Linked DNA regions of Homo sapiens: all the other regions are linked to region 1. The links are contacts of gene promoters, found by promoter capture Hi-C in blood cells and fetal thymus (Javierre and others, 2016). All regions are on one chromosome and are shown on one strand. The core of a region is centred on a gene start or on the middle of the fragment in contact, and the rest is flanking DNA. Distances in the headings are between cores, read along the strand shown. Region 1 holds the start of WAC-AS1 (WAC antisense RNA 1). Region 2 overlaps RAB18 (RAB18, member RAS oncogene family). Region 3 overlaps ABI1 (abl interactor 1). Region 4 overlaps ACBD5 (acyl-CoA binding domain containing 5). Region 5 overlaps RAB18 (RAB18, member RAS oncogene family). Region 6 overlaps MASTL (microtubule associated serine/threonine kinase like).

Region 1 (2,700 bases), core at 1-2,500:
CTGTTTCCTCGCATACATTACCATCAATGCCCGGCCTGTGAGTGTGTGTCGGGGAGGGGGGAGAGCGGCCGCGAAAGGCGGGCGGGCGCGCAGGCGGCGGCGGCGGCGGGCGGCGGGCAGCCCCGGCACCTGGGCCCGGCGCGCCCTCGGCGACTCTCATCAGCTCCCAGTTACTGGCGCCGGCGCTCCCGGGCCATCTCCCTCCGTCGACACCACGCTCACTCTCAGCCGGGGCAGCGGCGCCAACTACACGGCGGCACCGCGAACCGGGGGGAGGGGGGCAAGACGACGCGTCCGGCTCAGCCCCGCGGAGAGCGACTGCCTCCTCCGCCTTCTCCTCCTCCTGCTCCGCCGCCTCCTCCCCTCCTCCCCCCGCCGCCGCCGCTGCTGCCGCCGCCTGGTCCTTCTTCTCCTCCTCCTCCTCCCGCCGCCGCCGCCGCCGCTGGTGCCGCCGCTGCCGCTCCACCAACTACATCCGGGCAACTCGGACGCTGCCGCCTTCGGGAAACCTCGGCAGTTTCCGCCGGGCCCCTCCTCTCCCACCCTCGGCCTTCCTCCCCGCACCGCGCGGGTCCGGAACACCGCCCTCGGCAAACCTCGGCTGGCTCCGGCCTTTCTCCTCCTCTGAGGCCTGGATCTTCTCTTCGCGACCAGTCTGCCCTTTCCTTCTTTTCCTCACTCGCGAGTCGGCCACCGCCGTTCCCGTTTAGGGATAGTCTCGCTCGGGCGCCTGCTCGAGGCTGATCTCAGGGGCTCCGGGCTGCGCAGGGAGGGAGCCGCCTTCCGGAAGAGGACGGTGGGGCGCGAGGGAAGCCATCGCGGACTAAATAAGGGAGGCTGCAGCGGCTGCGCGTGCGCCCAGAGGCGCAGCGGGAGGGGGTGCTCTCGGGCGAGCTCTCCGGCCGCGGCCCCCGCCCCTGCGCTGTCGGGCGGGGAGGTCGGAAACCCCCTGGCGAGACCACGGGCGGACGCTTCCCGAAGAGCTGCCTGGGCTGCAGCCGCGGAAGCTGCGTTCTGGGGAGCGGGGAGCGTGCTCCGGCGCCTTCGGGCCGCTGCTGGAAGCCGGAACCGAGCCCGGGCCGCTGCCCCTCACCGGACGCCGCGCGCCACCGGCCCTCCGCGGGGCAGGGGCTGCTGCGAGCTCGCCGGGCGCCCTTTAGACGTAAGTCTCACCCTGCGCCCCGAGGCAGGAAGGAGCGCGTGCAGTCCCGGCCAGAAACGGCTAATAGGAAGGGCTGAGGGGTTCTGTGTTCAAGGCAGAAGGCCGTGCGTCAGGGCGGCCCTCAGCGGAGATGCGTGCACGGAGCGGGGAGCGCCGCTCGGGGCAGGGAATGAAAGCGGCGCTTGAGACTGGAAATTTAGGGAGATGAGTTCCTTGGGAACAACGCTGAACCATCTCACTGCCCCACCCTACCCCTTGTTATTTTTTTTTGAGACAGGTCTCGCGCTGTCGTCCAGTCTGAGTGCAGTGACGCGATCACGGCTCACTGCAGCCTCGACCTCCGGGGCTTACGGGTCATCCCACCTCAGCCCTCTAAGTAGCTGGCACCACGGGCATGCACCACCACACCCGGCTAATTTTTTAAAAAAAGTTTTTCCGGAGATAGGGTCTCGCTGTGTTACCCAGGCTGGTCTCGAACCCCTGGCCTGAAGCGATCCTCCCGCCTCGGCCTCCCAAAGTGCTGGGATTACAGGCGTGAGCCACTGCGCTCGGCTTTTCACCCCTTTCTAACGTTTTCCATCCCTTTCTAACGTTTTCCATACCCAGCGGTGCCCTGCCCACCCTCTCTTTATCTCTCACTTTTCCCTCCTCTGTTTCTTCCTCGCTGAAGTCCATTGGTGAAAGAAAATTCATGTGAAAGTTCTCAGGTGTGTTAAGTGAAATTGCTACAAATTTGATTTTATGTACTGCTGCAGGTACATTGAGAGAAGAAACGTGAAGTATACCAAACAACCGTTAGTTGAGAGTGGTGGTATTCGGGTGATTGGTTGACTTTTTTTTTTTTTTTTGCACTATTTGTAAGGCAACATAGTTTAATGAAAAGAATTGTGGTAAACATAATTAGGTGATTAACACAGAAGAGGCAAATAGTAAACAAGTCAGAAGAAACAACCCCCTCCAAAAAATAAAAAGTAACTGATTTACTTGGTATCCAAGAAGTTACGTTATTGCTAGACCTAATAGAATGGAGAGATGGAATGATGTAGGGAGAAAGGCTCTGAAATCACAACTGGTTGGAAAAAAAATTTTAATTACATAATCTTATTTGTCACATCCATCTGCCAGATGTAGAGCTTATTGCTGTTTGTGGAGATGTGCAGACCAATAAAAAGCCTATTTAATGCTCTCTTAAACTACCAGTAACTAAAAAAAAAAATTGACAGTGACTGAAATTATGAAAACAAAAAAATTCGGTAGCATCTTAACATGTAATTTCTGACATATTTGTAGTGAATCCATTGAAGACAAACATCAGAGGAGTACAACAAATAACATTTCATAGAAACTTTGAAAACTGGCAGCAAAATTACTACTAATTTGTTTGATAACTAGATGTCTGCTGAAATTGGTATAAACCATTTGCTCAAAAGTAGCCAGGCATGGTGATGCATGCCTGTATTCCTAGCTACTCCCAGAGGCTGAAGCTGAACAATCACTTTAGTCCAGGAGTTCGAGACTGCAGTGAGTCATGATCACAC
Region 2 (2,700 bases), core at 88-2,587, 1.0 Mb after region 1:
TGGAACATAGGTAACAATACTAGTAAGACTCTTAAAGACTACCTATAAAATTTTTCTTCTCTCCCAACATACTCAGTTACCCATAATTTAAGAAAAGATACATAATATCTACACGTGGTCACCACAGAAAATATTACTACAAAAACATAAGATTACCTTGTAGACTAGTTGTAATAATATCATAATAATAATACAATAATGATGATATTGGGTATTATTTATTGAACATATGGCAATGTGCAGACACAAAGCCAGAGGTTTTTCTCTCATAATTGCTAATCCTTAAATGGCCTTTGTTATTAACAGTACTTTGTAAGGAGAGGCAGGGAATTGGTGGCATGGTGTGAAGCAACAAATTTTAATACAGGCTCTGGGTATACATCAGATCTTAGACAGGGGTACCCTGGTAGCCCAAAAAGTATTCTAAATTCTATGTGTGCATTTTTCTAGGCAGAGAGTCCATTTCTCTATTAGACTTTGAAAGGGACAGAGAGTCCATTTCTCTATTAGATTTTGAAAAGAACTGACAATCTCAAAATAATTAAGAAGCACACTTTTTTTTTTTTTTTTTTAAGAGAGAGGGTCTCACTCTGTCACCCAGGCTGGAATGCAGTGGCAGAATCACAGCTCACTAATCCTCCCACCTTAGCCCCCCAAGTAACTGGCATGACAGGTGTGCATCACCATGGCCGGCTAATTTTTTTATTTTTATTTTTTTAGAGGCATGGTCTCGTTATGTTGCCCAAGCTGGTCTCGGACTCCTGGCCTCAAGAGATCCTCCTGTCTCAGCCTCCCGAGTAGCTAGGATTACAGGATGAGCCACTGCACCTGGCAGAAGCACCATTCTTATAGTATTGTATATTTACACCCTCATATTTTCAAAGTTAAAGGAGCAAAATGTTTCCCATGCAGAAGTAGAGATGGAAGGAGTAACTACCACCATGGCACTTAGATGTGACCAAATTTATAATAAACAGAGTGTGATTATAACTAATCTGCATTTTTTAAATTTACATATGAAATTCACCAAAAAAAAAAAAAAAAGGGAAGGCAAGGGGCAAAGGAGGGACAGCAATTTAGATAATAGGTCTCTCTAATCCCTTCCAGTTCTTGATATATTCTGCTACTCTTTACCTTACCAGGCCTAGCCACAGAATTGGAGTCTTACACATTTAGGGTCTGAGAGGTTTCTATTCCAACCCCCTCGCTTTTGAAATGAAGGCCTACAGCATTCAAGTATCACACACAAGGTCACACAAGTGGCAGCCCCAGTTTCATAATCCTGATCTCCTGACTACTATCACATACCCTTTAGACTCTAACACTATGAAATCACTAGAAAGTAATCCACTAATTCGGATTAAACATATCCTTTGTTTTCCCCAACAGCACAAGTGCTATCTCACTTCCACTAGCTCCAGCTCTGTAATGAAATAGAAACAAACTTGGTTAAAACAATCCTTTAAGATCATATCCACAGCAAATGTTTTTGTACTAATTCACTTTAAAAGGCATAGACTTCTATTTCAGTGGAGTCATTTATTCTCATCTTATCCAGAGTGTTTAAGATTGTTTTCCACAGCATATCACACAGGCCAATAATGTATATCTAGCTAGACAAATAAGACAACTTTCTCACTATATGTAATCCTTTCACAAAAGAAATAAAGTGACAAAATCCTGCATCGAGCAGTTGATAATCCATTGCTACGTATTGAGGAAAAAGTTTAAAACAGATTAGGCCCACGGTAAATTTGTTTCTTTGTTTCGGTGGCATGAACTAGGGAGACTGATAAATCCACTTAACAGGCCTTACTCTACAAGGAGAACCTCGGTTGGGTGTCATGCCTTGTGTCTGTAATCCCAGCACTTTAGGAGTATGAGGCAGGAGTTTGGCTTGAGCCTGTGTGTTGGAGACCACCTGGGCAACATAGGAAAATCCCATCTATGAAAAAAATTTTAGAAGTAGGGCCGGTTGTGGTGGCTCATGCTTATGTTCCTAGCACTTTGGGAGGTCAAGGCAGGAGGATCTGTTGAGCTCAGGAGTTCGAGACAGCCTGGGCAACACAGTGAGTCCTCCTCTCTATAAAAAATAAAAAAACACTAGTCAGACATGGTGACTCGTGCCTATAGTCCAGCTACTCAAAAGGCTGAGGTGGGAGGATCACTTGAGCCCAGGAGATTGAGACTGCAGTGAGCTATGATCATGCCACTGCACTCCAGTCTGGGTGACAGAATAAGACCCTGTCTCAAAAAAACAGCGGGTAGAGCAGAGGAATTTTGTTTATATACTCCAGTTAACCTTCCAGAAAATTTTAACATACCCTAACTTGTCATCCATGCAATACATTTAGAAAAAGTGCTAACCAACCATGTATTGGGTTGAACTACATGAAATGACAACCAACCATTCTTGACTTCAAAAACACTAATTTCATATGCCTGAACTTAAATGAGAACGATATCTCAAGGAAAAAAGGAGAAAAGAAAAAGAAAGATCACAAGGCTGTGAAATTCCTATTAAGACAACGTTTAACTTTTTAACACTCAAATATGTATGTGCAATAATAGATGATCATGTAAATAATTTTACTCATGCCTTTTACACACACACAGACAAATCATGCTGGTTTGCTAACTCATAGTATTTCATTATTCTATTCCTTGGTATGTGCAAATCCTTCATTCCAGTAGACACAG
Region 3 (2,700 bases), core at 129-2,628, 1.7 Mb after region 1:
CCCCAGCCTCCCGAGTAGTTGAGATTACAGGTGCCCACCACCATGCCTGGCTAATTTTTGTATTTTTAGTAGAGACGGAGTTTCACCATATTGGCCAGGCTGGTCTCAAACTCCTGACCTCGGGTGATCCACCCGCCTTGGCCTCCCAAAGTGCTGGGATTACAGGTGTGAGCCACCGCACCCGGCCCTAAACAGGGTTCTTATGGCAACATAGGGGATAAAAACAATGTGCGCAGAGGGTAATAGAGAAGGGTAGAGGGTAATATAATTGCCTCTATTTATTGAATACGTACTCCATTGCAGTCTCTGCTGGTTGGTTTTGTATTATCTTTAATCCTTACAAACTCGCCACGACAGACAGTGCTGTCTTACATATGAGGAAATTAGGACTCATAAAAGTTAAGTTTTGTTTAGTCATAGAGTTAGTAATTGGCAGTCAGGACTTCCTTCTGACTCTGGCAGACTCCATAGGCTGTGCTCTTTTCATATCATACTGTTTTCACATGAAAGAATCTAGAACTCAAAACTGGTTCAGGAATACCGTGGAATAAACAGAATAGACTGGTATTGGGCAAGCCTGGGAACCTAACAACTCTTTACCATTGTTTCCAGGTTGTGAATATAAGAAGAGATATGTTTGTAATTTAGGGACTTGCCTATATCACCAAAAGATGGTAACTTTGGCATTTGAAGTGTTCAACTACAGGTTAAGTATCCTTTATTCAAAATGCTTGGGACCAGAAATGTTTCAGATTTTTTTTTGAATTTTGGAATGTTTGCATTATATACTTACTGGTTGAGCCTCCCTAATCTGAAAATCTGAAATCCAGAATAGTCTAATGAGCATTTATTTTTGTGTCATGTTGATGCTCAAGAAGTTTTGGGTTTTGGATTTCCAGATTAGGGATACTGAACCTGTATAGGAATTACAGCCTAGCTTTTCACTGAGCTCCCTGGATCCTTTTTTCTTTTCCTGCATCCTTGCCTGTCTTTTTTCTATTGTTAGTCTGTGTTGCAATTGTGCTAAGAAATTTTGAAGAAGCATTTGTAGAGATTAACAAAAAATATGTGGAAATATTCTGGGTAGATGTGATTTCTATACAAACCAGGTTTGGGGAAAAACAGTCAAAGTGATTCAGGAGATGAGGATAGACTGGAATGGTTAGAATTCCTAGAATTGCACTTTGAAGTGTGAGTAAAACAGTGACTAGCAAAGTTAGAGATGTAGGTTGGAAATGTAAATGTATTTAACAGAAGGTTAGATAATTTTATGGAAGATCCTCAGTTAATTGTTAAATCGACCCATACCATGTCATTACATGTTTATTCATGCTGTTGTGTCAAGGTGATACAGGGCTGGGTAGAGCAGGATCTGACCTAGCATATCAGTTCTTTTTTTTTCTTTTCTTTCCTTTTTTTTTTTCTTCTTTCACACCAAGTCTGTGAACCCAGCATATCAGTTCTTATGAAAGTCCATATCACATATATCAGTTCTTGCTAATACTCTCAAGGTGAGAATACTGCATATTTTTAGGACTATATAATATTTGCAAATTTGTATTAAAACTAATGTCTTCTCTTTTTTCTTTTGTGGCTTTAATACTAATAACAGCTTTATATGTAGTACTTCTGACTAGTCCTGGTCTGTTTAGAACCTCAATTTTAGCATGCTTCTGTCTTTTGGAGAGTTTTCTTAGAAAATTATTGAAATAATCTCTTAGGATACTTGCAAATTTTTCTTGTGTGCTTCTGCGTTCTCCAGTTGATTCTGATAGCTCAGGAATGCTAATAGTCCTTGTGGAAAGGAGATATTTAGGCAACTGGGGATCTGCTGTGTGACCATTTACAGTAACCTTATTTATATTCAGTGAAATTATGTCCTAAGAATTAAGACAGTTAACAGTCAAAAATATGTTAGCCAGAAAGGAAGAGTGTTCATATTGGGACAAGAGGTTGGATCAAACTCTAGGATATTGTGCAGATATAAATCTATAAAACCCATGAAAATAGTGTTGGCATGAAAAGTAAGGTAAAGGCTGGGCGTGGTGGCTCACACCTGTAATCCCAGCACTTTGGGAGGATGAGGCGGGCGGATCATGAGGTCAGAAGATCGAGACCATCCTGGCTAACATGGTGAAACCCCGTCTCTACTAAAAATACAGAAACAAAGTTAGCTGGGTGTGGTGGCGGGCATCTGTAGTCCCAGCTACCTGGGAGGCTGAGGCGGCTGAATGGCGTGAACCCGGAGGCGGAGCTTGCAGTGAGCTGAGATTGTGCCACTGAACTCCAGCCTGGCAGCCTGGGTGACAGAGCGAGACTCCGTCTCAAAAAAAAAAAAAAAAAAAAGTAAGGTAAAATTGATAGTTAATGCTAATTTTGAAGCATTTACAAAGTTTTGATTGGGAGGTTGTATATTTTTCCTAATATCATCTTGTGTTGATTGTAATATTTATTGAAATTATGGTTTGATTGTAGAAGAAATAATAGTCAAACCCCAGAACTACAAACTTTGTAGATCTTAATATTTACTAAGACATCATGTTAGAAAAAAGGGATTTTTTTTAAAAAAAAAAAAGGGCATTGTTGAGAAATAAGACAATAGGAAAGTAGCAATTACTGGATTTTTTTTTTTTTTTTTTTTGAGATGGAGTCTCGCTCTGTCACCCAGGCCGGAGTGCAGTGGTGTGATCTCGGCTCACT
Region 4 (2,700 bases), core at 92-2,591, 1.3 Mb after region 1:
TTCCTTATCTACTGAGAATTTGAAATTTGGCAGAGTATACATATAACTTTTTCACTTACACTAGTCAGTTTTGATTTGTCATAAGCTTTGAATAAAAGTACCTTATTACGATTGCTTAATAATAGTTATTCTATATTTTAGTATGTTTTTAAAGAGACATTTGCAGGTTATTTTGGTTATATCTACAGCATGTCTATTCATGTATTCTTTTATTTATTGAACCATCTTAGGCATTGCTATTAAAGTTTAAAATCTCAGAGTGTTTTGAAATCAAAGAAGCAAGCAACTAACAGAACCATAACTTTTGTTTCTATAAGCTAGAAATAAATCATTATCTAAAGTATTAATGCAATATAAAATCACTATTAGTATAGCTAAGCTAATTTATAACCTGATTATCAGTTGTATTCCCCAGGTGATTTGTATTTAATGTGTGTTTCCAACAGGTTCATTCCAGCCAACAAATGAAATGATGCTTAAATTTTATAGCTTCTATAAGCAGGCAACTGAAGGACCCTGTAAACTTTCAAGGCCTGGATTTTGGGATCCTATTGGAAGATATAAATGGTAATTTTTTGTGTAGAGCTATGCAAGAATTTAAATTTTAATGACATAATTATCATATGGCTATTACTTAAGTGGTTATATATTATTCTGTGCAGAAAGTGTCCTAGGTATTGGGTACAATTTTTATCCTCCAGGTTTTCTTTTTTGTTTGTTTGTTTTTGAGATGGAGTCTCACTCTGTTGCCCAGGCTGGAGTGCAGTGGCAGGATCTCGGCTCACTGCAGCCTCTGCCTCCTGGGTTCAAGTGATTCTCCTGCCTCATCTTCCTGAGTAGGTGGGATTACAGGTGCGCGCCACCACACCCAGCTAATTTTTGTATTTTTAGTAGAGACAGGGTTTCACTATGTTGGCCACGCTGGTCTCGAACTGCTGGGTTCAGGTGGTCCGCCCACCTCGGCCTCCCGAAGTGCTGGGATTACAGGCGTGAGCCACCATGCCCAGCCTTCCCAGGTGCTCTTAGTACAATTTTACACAAATAGGAAAATCTTGGGGAGGAGAGGAAAACAGTAAAACCAAAAGGGATAGGTGCATCAAAGATAAAGAAGCATTATCAGTTAATCTTTACTTTCATGGAGTTTTCCCTTTTTTTTTTTTTTTTTTTAAGGCAAGAGCAACTCCCAACCTAAGTTAAATAAACAAACTTTTAACTGCCTCTTTTGCCTGCAAGAAAAATAATGGCTTTTCCTTGTTTGTACTGAGCCTTGAAGATAATAAATAACTAGGAATATGACTCAGGTACTGCCATGCTAACTTTTTATCTAAGCTGTCACTTCTGACCTACTGTAATTGAATAGAAATTTGATCTTTTATATACTTAAAAGAATTCTAAACTAAAAAGTATACTTAAATGAATTATAAACTATAAACTAAAAGAATTATAGATACAGGTACCTGTACTCATCCGTGCTGTTTTCCCAGTTGACTAACAGTTGATACTCTAATACAATTGAAGCCTTCACAAATGTCTGAGAAAAGTCAATTTTAGACTGTACGTTATGAACAGAATATGCTAATTGGTGAAGCATGTTTTATTTATTTATTTATTTTTGAGATGGAGTTTCACTCTTGTTGCCCAGGCTGGAGTGCAATGGCGTGACCTCAGCTCACCGCAACCTCTGCCTCCCAGGTTCAAGCGATTCTCCTGCCTCAGCCTCCTGAGTAGCTAGGATTACAGGCATGCGCCACCACGCCTAGCTAATTTTGTATTTTTAGTAGAGACAGGGTTTCTCCATGTTGGTCAGGCTGGTCTTGAACTCCCGACATCAGGTGATCTGCCCGCCTCGGCCTCCCAAAGTGGTGGGATTATAGGCGTGAGCCACCCCCCGCTCCCGCCCCAGTGGTGAAGCATGTTTTAAAACCCACACCTTTTTTTTGGACACAGGGTCTCACTCCCATCACTCAGGCTGGAGTGTAGTGGCACCATCATGGCTCACTGCAACCTCTGCCTCCTGGGCTCAAACAATTCTCCCACCTCAGCCGCCCTAGTAGCTGGGACCACATGCTTGTGCCACCACACCCGGCTAATTTTTTAAATTTTTTCCTAGACGGGGTTTGCATGTGTTGCCCAGGCTGGTCTCAAATTCCTGGTCTCAAGTGATCCACCTGCCTTGGCTGGGATTACAGGTGTGAACCACCATGCCACACCAGTTTTTTTTTTTTTTTTTCTTCAGACGGAGTCTCACTCTGTCGCCCAGGCTGGAGTGCAGTGGCGCGATCTTGGCTCACTGAATCTCCGCCTCCCAAGTTCAAGCAATTCTCCTGCCTCAGCCTCACGAGTAGCTGGGATTACAGGCGCGTGCCACCACGCCTGGCTAATTTTTATGTCTTTAGTAAAGACAGAATTTCACCATGTTGGCCAGGCTAGTCTCGAACTCCTGACCTAAAGTGATCCGCCCGCCATGGCCTCTCAAAGTGCTGAGATTACAGGCATAAGCCACTGTGCCCTGCCCATTTTTGTTTGTTTGTTTGTTTTTTCCCCACACACTGTGATGCTCAGTTTCTTCACCCTGAACTGGAAGTGCCATAAGCTTGTTTTAAGATTTCTTAGTTCTCTACTTTCCTTTAAGATCTTTATGAATTGTCACAAAATAACAGGTTAAATGAAATAGTAATATGTTATTATTTCATATAACTT
Region 5 (2,700 bases), core at 189-2,688, 1.0 Mb after region 1:
ACATAGACACTAAGCATCTTGGATATTTTTGACAGTTAATGCTACCTTATTTGACACTAGCATGAGCGGTCTAGCTAGTACAGTAACGGGGATCAGAATGGTTGGATTGACAGGAAAACGAAAAGAAGCCAGTAAGGAAAAACGAGGCATTAAAAATAAGCCCAAAGTTTGAAACCTCAAATTTTATAAATATCTATACTAACAAACAAGAAAAATAAAATTTTTTCCTAAATATCACGTCATTCCTCCTCCCCTTAAAAATTGTCTTTAGTGTTAGTTCAGTCTAGATGGTCTTTTTAAAACTTCAAAGAAACATATCCAATTATGATTCTCTTTGGCAGATGAGATGATTTTTTAATATTCTGTTCTGTTTTGAAATATTCATAAAGAATTATGCATTGTGAAAATTTAAACAAAACATAGCTGCCTAATTACCCAATTATAAGACATTACTGTTTATCCTTTAATCAGTATCAAATCTCCCAAAAGTTATTTAATACAAATTGTTCATTCACCACCTCTAGAACACTACACAAATCAATTTCTGCATCCTTAAAAAGTAAAGTTTAATATTTTAAAAATACATTTTAAAAACTCTTACCCATATTGCAAGTTTAGCCTTATTTCCATCCACTGAAATTGTTTTCACCTTAAAGTCAACACCTTAAAGAAATGAAAATTTTGATAAGTCTCCCAGTAAAACAGACTTTTAAAATCCATTACCAAGAAAACCAGAAAACAGAAAAGTCACTATTATCAAATGCCCAATTCACACCCCAACTTCTTAGAATTCTGGATGTGGAGATAAAAAGTGTCATTAAAATCCAGGATCTTAGGATTTAATCAGGATAAATGAAAATCAAATGCTTGTAGAATTCACTCACTCACCTACCTTCTATTCTTCCAAAAAGGAAAAACGAAATTCAATTTAAGGTGATAACTCACTATGCGTGTTAAAAGTCAAGAGCTGCAATTACAATGCTCACATAAAGAAGACTATCCATGGCTGACTGTGGGTCATGGCAGCTTCCAGGGGCTCCCTAAGCATCCACATGCTACTGTTAAGAGTGCTGTCCACTGCCAGCCAACCACTAACTCAGATCTTGACTGTAAGCAGCTTGGGGAACCGGTAAAAATATTAAAGGGCCACTCACTCCTTGTCATATAATCTCTTTATTTTTATCCTAAAAAAATACTATTTTTATGTAATAACCTAATCAATAACTTGCTACAGCACAATTTCAATAAAACAATTTATACATGAAAACATTTATATACAACCATCTAAGAATCTTCATAAGTGAAAGAGGAGTGCCCAAAGTTCTATGAAAAGCTTCTATAAGTACTAATTTATGTAAAGAAAAGAGTTTCATAAGAAGTCCACAAGGCTTTATTACAGCAGCCAAAAAAGAAACCTCTCCCTTTCCAGGAAAAGGAGTTGACACATGCCATCTGGCTTAAATGAACAGCAACTGCCCACATGTCTTTCAAGAGTTCAGTCTACCCCACTGGCCAGAGGGAAAACATTAGCTCAAGAAGCTTGGAAAGAAACTTTCAAAATATCTTATTAGCTTGTCACAATTAATTCAGAACAGCCCCAACTAAGATGAACAGCACCCTCACATACTAAATGCTTAATAGAACACCTGTCACCAATATGGAAATATATTTGTAATTCTTGGAAGACTTGTGGTGATCCATTACATATACAAATTCAGTAATAAAAATGCACATTCAAAATGTGCATTATGCCAGGTCTTTCTGTATACCAAATATATATATTTTTAAGTTTGGTGTTTTGAGCTGGGGTGATAAAGGAGTTGATAAAGCCTAGAATGATGGGCAACCATTAGTAAAAGGACAGTGTTGATTACATAGCCCAACAAAAACCTAAATATAAAATTTCTTCACAGCCAAACAAACAAAAAATCCCACATGCTAAATAATCTTGTATTAACCAGGTCTAAATAAAGAAGTTACTATGCCATTTTAAAAGTGGAACCATCTACATAAACAACATGAAATTATCTACATTTTCTTCCTATTGCTTTAAAAAAAAAAAAGCAAAGCACAAACCCTGAGAAAATTCAGAGGAGGAAAATGGTTCTGACTTGGTGCAGGTACTAAATGACAGCCACTGGCAGACACTACACAGAGATAGCCTCTGTCATGCACACTCTACAGTTAAATTCTCAAGGTTTTTCAGGGAGTATATAAAGAACTAATTTTTTTCCTTAATAATCCCAGATACATGTTCAAGAGCAGACAAGCATCTTTCCTATGAGCTAATTTGTTTACCCAAGAAAAGAAACCCACCGCTTCCAGAATGTATGTGTTTTCTTCCCATACCCCAACTCCTCTTTCTCTATTATTATTTCCTGGTTCTGCAAGTTTGTTGTGAACAGTCTAATGACTGTCTCTGACATAAGAATAATTTGCATGTGGATAACTAACAATGTCTCTAAGTTATGCTTTTGACATATTATATCTGAAACTTACCAATACCCATCCACAGGAGACACTGAACACTGTCGTCCTGCCATCAAAGCCAACAGACACAGGTAGCCTGAAGGGGCACCTAATCTAAATCCAGACCCCTAAAGTCCCCAGTCATCTTCCCTAGGTTCCTCTGGTGAATCTCACATGCAGCAATTGAGCTCTTCAGATCTCACATGCTAAAACTGCTTCTTCATCATGCTT
Region 6 (2,700 bases), core at 58-2,557, 1.4 Mb after region 1:
TGAAACTGTCTCTACTAAAAATACAAAAATTAGGCGGGCATGATGGTGGATGCCTGTAATCCCAGCTACTCAGGAGGCTGAGGCCAGAGAATCACTTGAACCTGGGAGGCAGAGATTGCAGTGAGCCGAGATTGCACCATTGCACTCCAGCCTGGGTGACAAAAGAGAAACTCTGTCTCAAAAAATAAAAATAAAAATAAATAAAAAAATAAAAAAAGAGATAAGATAATATCAAGGGTGGCAGGTGGGGCTTCTCTGGAACATTGAGACTGAACCAGAAGGCAAAGGACAAATGACTACATGTACTCCAGCATCTGGTCTTTTACATTCAGAGAGTGGGACAGCCATGGCTACTGCTAGTTTATTTTCCTATGACAAATGCCATATATATACTAGATGAGTTCATTTTCTTTTACTTTAGGTAACGTAAGTACTGAAGAAATTTTTTAAAATTTAACCTTGAAAGATAATGTAGTGATAGATAACACTTCAAAAACTCAAGACATGCATGCCTTACCATGGGCCCTGCCTAGTAACAGCTCAGGTGCAAGGTAGTCTGGGGTTCCTAGAATTCGCCCATCATCAACGGGGGCCACCCCTCTTCTCACACTCTTCGGAGTTCGGTATGGAGTTCCCGACTTGATCTGATTTGGGGTCTGCTAATTCAAAAAGGGTTTAAGAGATAACAAATATCTTAATTCCTTTTACACCGAATAGAAAATGGTGAAACACACAAGCCAAATAACTAGCTCATAGGCTACTAGGCGTAAAGGATGTAGTCAAATTTTTGATAAGTTTTGAAAATGAATGCATAATTAGTTATAATTATGAAAAAGTCCTTTTATCTGGTGAAGTTCAAAAGCTTAGACAACACTGATTATTCCAATAAGATCTAGATAAGAAACAATAAAAAAAATCTGCAAGAAAAATGTTCAGTGAAAAAATCTGCAAGAAGACTGATAGCATGGACTAATACAAGCTTAAGAAGAGCCACTGAGGAAGGCTATGGCTAACAAATGATTAAGACAACACGTAAGACAGAACTACATATAACCTATTGTACTAAATAGCATTTAAAAATTTTTAGGATAATTTGTTATTTCACAACAAGTTTTTTTTTTTGAGATGGAGTTTCGCTCTTGTTGCCCAGGCTGGAGTGCAGTGGTGCGATCTCGGCTCACCACAACCTCCGCCTCCCAGGTTCAAGGAATTTTCCTGCCTCAGCCTCCCAAGTAGCTGGGATTACAGGCATACACCACCATGCCTGGCTAATTTTGTATTTTTAGTAGAGACGGGGTTTCTCCATGTTGGTCAGGCTGGTCTCGATCTCCCGACCTCAGGTGATCCTCCCACCTTGGCCTCCCAAAGATGGTGTGAGCCACCACGCCTGGCATTCACAACAACTTTGTAAGACCAGCAAGACAGGTGCCATTATCCCTTACAGACATTTAGAAAAATTGCAGGTCTGAGGTTAAGGGACTTCTAAGTCATTTAATAGTAAGTCTTGGGTAGAAAACTCAAGTTTCGAAACATAAATTCAGGGGTTACACATTTTATGTTATGATGTTTTCCCAAAGGAAGAAAAAAAGTAAAACTTTGGGTTGGTAAAGGTTTAGAATATAGAGAGTAAGCTTTGAAATATATATTTTTCGCTGGGCATGGTGGCTCATGCCCGTAATCCCAGCACTTTGGGAGGCCAAGGCAGGCAGATCACAAGGTCAAGAGATCGAGACCATCCTGGCCAACGTGGTGAAACCCCATCTCTACTAAAAATACAAAAATTAGCTGGGCATGGTGGCACATGCCTGTAGTCCTAGCTACTCAGGAGGCTGAAGCAGGAGAATCGCTTGAACCCGGGAGGCGGAGGTTGCAGTGAGCCAAGATCGCGCCACTGCACTCCAGCCTGGTGACAGAGCGAGACTTTGTCTCAAAAAAAAAAAAAAAAAAAAAAGAAACATATTTTTCAACTTTTATTCTCTTAAGAAGAGATCATCTAAATATGTCCTTGGAAGGCAGTAAGGTAGAGCGGACTTAAATTATCTCTGGCCAGGTGAGGTGGCTCACACCTGTAATCCTAGCACTTTGAGAGGCCGAGGTGGGCGGATTGCTTGAGGTCACGAGTTTGAGATCAGCCTGGGCAACATGGTGAAATTCCGACTCTACTAAAAATACAAAAATTAGCCAGGTGTGGTGGTGGGCCCCTTATAATCCCAGCTACTTGGGAGGCTGAGGCAGGAGAATCGCTTGAACCTGGGGGTGAAGTGTGCAATGAGCCAAGATCACACTACTGCACTCCAGCCTGGGCAAAAGAACGAGACTGTCTCAATAATAATAATAATAATAATAATAATAATAATAATAATAATTTTGTAACTCATAGTACTGTGGGGATCAAGTGAAAATTAATTTTGTAACTCATAGTACTGTGGGGATCAAGTGAAAATATGTGATTGTATTTTCTTAGGAAAGTACATAAAACGACACAAATGGAAGGAGGCATTACAGCTAAAAATAATAAACATGATTTCTACCAGCTTTACTTTTCTGGGTGAAAACTTCCAACAGCCCACAGATTCTCAACAAGAAGAACAGAACTATATGATTAATACCGCATAGTCTAGCTTAGAGGCAAATGTCTGTCTTCATAGTTTTTCTAAAATCCAAAAAACAGTATTAGAAAGTTATAAATATACCTGATGT

Evidence for each region. The method cuts DNA at HindIII sites, captures the fragments that hold promoters and counts their contacts. A CHiCAGO score of 5 or more calls a contact.
Region 2: a contact is called between a fragment that was not itself captured here and the fragment with the promoter of WAC-AS1 in region 1, in 2 of 17 cell types (non-activated CD4 T cells and total B cells). The highest score is 7.4, in non-activated CD4 T cells.
Region 3: a contact is called between a fragment that was not itself captured here and the fragment with the promoter of WAC-AS1 in region 1, in 1 of 17 cell types (fetal thymus). The highest score is 5.1, in fetal thymus.
Region 4: a fragment that was not itself captured here is called in contact with the fragment with the promoter of WAC-AS1 in region 1 in 1 of 17 cell types (fetal thymus); the score reaches 8.5 in fetal thymus.
Region 5: a fragment that was not itself captured here is called in contact with the fragment with the promoter of WAC-AS1 in region 1 in 2 of 17 cell types (fetal thymus and activated CD4 T cells); the score reaches 6.3 in fetal thymus.
Region 6: a contact is called between a fragment that was not itself captured here and the fragment with the promoter of WAC-AS1 in region 1, in 1 of 17 cell types (naive B cells). The highest score is 5.1, in naive B cells.

The regions. Positions count from the first base shown.
Region 1 is chr10:28,530,904-28,533,603 of GRCh38, reverse strand. It overlaps WAC-AS1 (WAC antisense RNA 1), which reads left to right and starts at 1,250. Exons shown (of 3, transcript NR_033805.1): 1 at 1,250-1,869. WAC (WW domain containing adaptor with coiled-coil) reads right to left here and starts at 486. Exons shown (of 14, transcript NM_016628.5): 1 at 1-486. The coding sequence starts at 24. RefSeq lists silencers at 3-82, 293-442, 813-1,232 and enhancers at 593-782, 403-1,086. The HindIII fragment of the contact is 8,015 bases long and covers 1-2,700 here.
Region 2 is chr10:27,505,891-27,508,590 of GRCh38, reverse strand. All of the region lies in intron 1 of RAB18 (RAB18, member RAS oncogene family), which reads right to left. Among named protein-coding and RNA genes, the nearest start is that of RAB18, 2.9 kb to the right of the region's middle. The HindIII fragment of the contact is 3,454 bases long and covers 1-2,700 here.
Region 3 is chr10:26,853,176-26,855,875 of GRCh38, reverse strand. The region is part of intron 1 of ABI1 (abl interactor 1); the gene reads left to right. Among named protein-coding and RNA genes, the nearest start is that of ABI1, 6.4 kb to the left of the region's middle. The HindIII fragment of the contact is 9,481 bases long and covers 1-2,700 here.
Region 4 is chr10:27,232,959-27,235,658 of GRCh38, reverse strand. It overlaps ACBD5 (acyl-CoA binding domain containing 5), which reads left to right. Exons shown (of 13, transcript NM_145698.5): 3 at 447-567. Among named protein-coding and RNA genes, the nearest start is that of ACBD5, 6.5 kb to the left of the region's middle. The HindIII fragment of the contact is 2,508 bases long and covers 88-2,595 here.
Region 5 is chr10:27,524,791-27,527,490 of GRCh38, reverse strand. It overlaps RAB18 (RAB18, member RAS oncogene family), which reads right to left. Exons shown (of 7, transcript NM_021252.5): 3 at 602-663. Among named protein-coding and RNA genes, the nearest start is that of RAB18, 22 kb to the right of the region's middle. The HindIII fragment of the contact is 206 bases long and covers 1,336-1,541 here.
Region 6 is chr10:27,171,077-27,173,776 of GRCh38, reverse strand. MASTL (microtubule associated serine/threonine kinase like) reads right to left here. Exons shown (of 12, transcript NM_001172303.3): 8 at 2,694-2,700; 9 at 518-659. Among named protein-coding and RNA genes, the nearest start is that of MASTL, 17 kb to the right of the region's middle. The HindIII fragment of the contact is 652 bases long and covers 982-1,633 here.